Regions from separate parts of the Homo sapiens genome. Here region 2 is linked to region 1. Evidence: promoter capture Hi-C in 16 types of primary human blood cells and fetal thymus (Javierre and others, 2016). All regions are on one chromosome and are shown on one strand. Each heading gives the region's core, a stretch centred on a gene start or on the middle of the fragment in contact. The rest is flanking DNA. Distances are from core to core; before and after follow the strand shown.

Region 1 (2,520 bases), core at 6-2,505:
CTCCTGAGTAGCTGGGATTACAGGTGCATGCCACCACGCCTAGCTAATTTTTGTATTTTTAGTAGTGACGGGGTTTCGCCATGTTGGTCAGGCTGGTCTCGAACTCCTGACCTCGTGATCCGCTCCCCTTGGCTTCCCAAAGTGCTGGGATTACAAGCGTGAGCCACCATGCCCGGCCAAGTGGCTACATTTTAATAGAAGATTCCTTAAGATCAAAAAGCTTCAATATTGAATTCTCCAGTCTCCAGTAGTGTCAGGCGTCACAGGAATCAATGAGAGAAGGATTTGTTGGACAGGTGGGTCTCTGTAACTTCTCTTAAATCATACCAGCATGGAAGCCAGTTACTCCCAAGACTAGATGTGCCCATTTTTTTTTGGTTGGAGAGCTAAGGGACCAGGCCAATCGTTTATCTGTGCAATGATTCAATGAGCGCACACGGAGTACTACTTAGTGTCGTACGCTGTACTTGGCACATGTACTTTCCTAGTGAATTGTGAAGTCCATCTTGAATTATTGAATTATTTGAATTATTTTCAAATAATTGAAAATTATTGAGTTATTTTCAGTTCAAACAGTTGCTTGCAAGAGAAAGGTGGAAAAACAAATATTTGGGGTTTGTAAATTTTGGGGCCATGTACATCTTAGTGTTTGCAATGAAAGCATTAGTTTGAAAATTATTTTACTTTGTTCTGTATTTTAAAATTACTTTTCAAGGTTTATGTTTTTTTCTAAATTCAAAATTCACATTTCAAAAGATTCTAATTTCTTAGCATATCAAGTTAAGTGGATTAAAATAAAATAACTTTTTAAGAATTTCTTGAGCAGCATGTCATTAAAAATACATAATATACATGTATACATGATAAAACAATATTAAGATCATTTTTATACTTAAAATGCAATTAATAGAAATCAATGTTCCAAGGCGGATTCTGATTTTTTGTGGAATTTTGACTTCTTTGTATTGTTAGAACAATTTAAAAGGATATGTTCTTCTGTTTTCCCTTTCCCTCCCACCTTCTTTTATTTTCTCAATATATTTAATAAACTATTTTCATACCAAAGCTCCATTCCAGATAGGACAAGCAATTCGAACACTCCATCCTGTGAACCAAGGCTTGTAAGAAAAGACAGGAAAGAAAGCAATAACTCCAGAGCATACACTGAGGATCCCCAGAGTAACAAGAATCCGGCCAGCAGCCTGGTAGAGGCCCTTCATTTTCCTTGGTGGCTTGAGGCCTTGGTCTCAAAGATGTTTTGTTACCAAAACATGAGCGTATGACAGGCCTCAGTAAATAGAAGTTTCTTAGAGACAGTAGCCACGACACATACGAACTGTTGATCTACTTGGAAACAAGATTCTATTTGTTTTACCAAAGATGAAATGTACTCAAATAGTCCTTGGCATAAATTTGACACAATAAATTCTAATAACAATTTATTTAAGAGAAAGAGAGAAAAAAATTATCCCTTGCTTTGGATTGCTGCCTTGATTCCCTTCATTCTGCCCTGTCCTGGGGAGTGACCACTTCCTGGCTTAATCAGATTCAAAGGCTTGCTGACTGAGCTAATTGTTTCTCAACTCAACCTGCCTAGTGGTTCCAGCATAAAGCCAACATCCTTTGTGTACAATAGATCCACATTCCCAGCACAATTTCCCACAAAACAAAGTAAAAATAAGCACCCTGGTCACTTTTCATTATATTTAATTTAAATGATTTCAACCCAAAGCAAGACCTTCACCTCCTTTCAAAGTTTAATTCCACTACAATTATTTTTGATAAAGATTTTTGATATGGATTCATTCCCAAATGGGCATGAACTTTATTATGGAGTTTTGCATTGTTTTCACTAAACCAGTTTCACCTTATTTTACTATTAATTTAATTTTCAATTAAAGTGTGATGATGGAAATGTATGCAGTTATAAAATAAAATAAACTTTGAGGAGCAATTCATCAGTTGAATAAAATGCTGATCCCCATTCATTCTTGAATCATAATTCTAATTTGAGATATTGAACTTAGGTACATTTAGGCAGTTACAAGTCATCTCTTACTTTTTCATGCATTTGAGAAAATGGTGTTATTTGATTTTGACTGATTGGATATATGTGGATGTCTGTTCAAAAAAATATCTTAAAAACACAGGTCAGTTTCTGAAGCCATCTGAATAATTTTCCTATTTAACATTAATACATTATTCCTTTTTACTGAAATAAAAGGATGAAAAATAATTTTATGAATGCAAATGAAGTGGTTTAGGACATCGATTTTGAGTCAGATGGAGCTGTGATCCGATTCTGGTTCCACTCTCTACCAGGTTTGTGTCCTTGAGTAAGGGCAAGTTACTTAACTTCTCTAGGTCTATTTATTCGTATGCGAAATGGGAATAAAAGTTAGTGTTTATCTTTAATGGATTTGGTTGAGAGGATTAAATGAGCTAAAACCATAAATGCCTAGCCCAGAGTTTAGCATAACGAAGATGTTCAGAAAGTTACTCTTGTTAAATTGGGATGTT
Region 2 (2,520 bases), core at 11-2,510, 97 kb before region 1:
TAAGTATTTCCCATACATTATTCTGATTATGGTTAGTGAAAATTTTAGATTACAGGTCTTATAAACTGAAGCATTTTTTTAAGTCTTGGAAAGTACTATTCTGAAATAGAAAATGATACCAATTAGAACGCTTTAATCACTTTTAAAAATATAAAAGTGTGCTGTGGGTTATAAAAGTTTGTTGAACAATCTTCTTGACATTTATAATTGTCTTCTCAGTTGCCCTTTAACTAGAGATAATTAAAAGAAGTTTGCTAACAGTTCAAGAGTTTAGGAATTCCTTTTCTTTTATTATTCTGCACCATGGCTAAGAAAAAAGAGAGGAAAAAAGGACCTTTCCCTATCGCCTTGCATCTCTAGTCAGAGTTGAAACTCAAGGTCTCAGAGGTAACTTCTTTAAGATAGAGGTAAATGGCATGGAACCCAGGCATCAGAGAAAAGATGTATTTGTTACTTGGAAATTTTAATGAAGTCCCTGTTAGGATGAAAACTGTGGGCCTTCTTCTGAATAAATATGTCCAGTGTAATTATTAAGCTTAAAAAATGCCAAAGGGAAAAAAACCCTCACATTTGGAGCCCTGCATCTGGAAGCTTTTTTCTCTCCCTAGGAAATCTTTGTGGCTCTTTGTTTCTGTCAAGGAGGAAAATGTGCTTGTAAATTTCACCCAAGAGAAAGCGTATCTTTGCATCCACTGCATCAGGAAGGAAAAAATACGACCCAGGGAACAGATGCCAAAAAGCCAGAAACAACCAAAGATTGGAGGGTGGGGTGAGGGGTGGGTGGAATAATGAAAAAAAAACAAAAAAACAAAAAAACAAACCAAAAAAAACCCACCAAACTCAGTCTGGCAGAAAATTTCGGTGAGGAAGTTATCTGTGCCAACCTTAGCCTCAAAGAAAAATACTCCACCCTCTTAAAGCTGCTAAGATGGCAAGGGAGGCAGTGCCTCCACTGGCTGTCCAGACCTCCCCAGACAAATGGATCCCTCCACGACCAGCCAAAGCAAACTTCCCACTACACACCACACATGCATCTGTATGCACAGAGGTCTGTCTTGTGTGCCAGGCAGTTGCTTGTGGTGTGACTTGAAAGGAGCCAGGGAAATCATACCCAACTTTCTCAAACTGCCTGTTCGGGTGCCTAAGATTCAACTAGTATTGGTTCATTCCTTTATAGTAAGAATTACACTCACCCTGAAGTTTTCTTAAAATGTGAACTAAGCCTGGGAGGACATCGCATGCAGACCAAGGCTCTTTTGTATAAAACTTGAGGTCTTAACTCCTACAGAAGGGGACTCTTAAGGTAGTTATTCAAATGAGAAAGAATGACATTCAAACCTCTTCACTGCTGCTACCCATGCCTCCTTATTCCCACTTCTTACAGGGGGTGTGAAATGTTTTTACACAACACAAAGTCATTTACCCTTCAGATGAGGCAGAAAGAGAAAGATGGAGTGACAAAAGTCCTAGCTGCATTGGACATTTTCATTGCTGCATGTTCTGCTTTCAGGCTGTGAGAGAATGGGCTCACCTGGGATTCCTTAGAGCTACATCACCGTGACTGGAATTTCACGCTGTCAAAGGGGCTTCTCCCATTTGTTGGGCAAAACTACTTCTTGTATGGAGGCTCCAGGATATCACCTTATCAGTTAGAAATAGGGTTGCATCTGGGGTTTGAGAAGGTGTCAATTACTCTGCATATTTTAAATGCCCTCTCTTGCAATCTATACAATTAAAATACTTTATGCTCTTAAATCTTTCTTGAGATGAGGCCCAGTGCTTCAACCAGAAACCTCAGAGGAAACATTTATTACATTATTCTAAAGAAACACTCATAATTAATTAAATCTGTAACCTTGAATATTCAATTCCTACTAACATAATTTTAACGATCTCTTCAAAACAATTTATTTTCGTTATCAAGCTTGGTGACCATCTCCTGTGCCTCTTGCCAGGCTCACACTGGCTCGTGCAGAAGGAATTTTTCAGTATGATCCCTGATCTGAGGGGTAAAACATTGAATTGCCTTCAATTTATAGTCAAAGAGAAAAGTTGCTGTCTGCTAGAAGGGTCCATGGGTGCTGCATAAAAAGAGAACAGGAGAGAGAGAGCTTAGCAGTTAGAGGTGAATTGGAGACGCATTCCCTTTGTCACTCGTGTGTAATTCAGACTTGGGGTTGAGTCTTGCACATGTAAGTGTGCTTGCATGTGCACACACACCCCAGGGAATCTCAGGCTAGTGAGTCCGACTGGAAATGATTCATACATATAAGATCAATACATGTTTCAGCTAACAAGCCTCCCAACCTCAGGTTTCTGCAGTGTGCCAGGCAGGAACACCTATAATATCATGCCAGAGATAGCAGTGGAACATTTCAAAGAGCATCTAGGACTATTAAGAAAATCTCAATCCAGGCCGAGTGCCATGGTTCAAGCCTGTAATCCCGGCACTTTGGGAGGCCGAGGTGGGCGGATCACCTGAGGTCAGGCATTCGAGACCACCCTGGCCAACATGGTGAA

What was found. Contacts are between HindIII fragments. The CHiCAGO score rates a contact against its expected background, and 5 or more counts as called.
Region 2: a contact is called between a fragment that was not itself captured here and the fragment with the promoter of TMEM212 in region 1, in 1 of 17 cell types (M0 macrophages). The highest score is 5.6, in M0 macrophages.

Annotation. Positions count from the first base shown.
Region 1 is chr3:171,842,084-171,844,603 of GRCh38, reverse strand. TMEM212 (transmembrane protein 212) reads right to left here and starts at 1,255. Exons shown (of 5, transcript NM_001164436.2): 1 at 1,062-1,255. The coding sequence starts at 1,220. The HindIII fragment of the contact is 2,451 bases long and covers 223-2,520 here.
Region 2 is chr3:171,938,818-171,941,337 of GRCh38, reverse strand. LOC105374217 (a long non-coding RNA gene) reads right to left here and starts at 2,449. Exons shown (of 4, transcript XR_924718.4): 1 at 1-2,449. The HindIII fragment of the contact is 1,333 bases long and covers 594-1,926 here.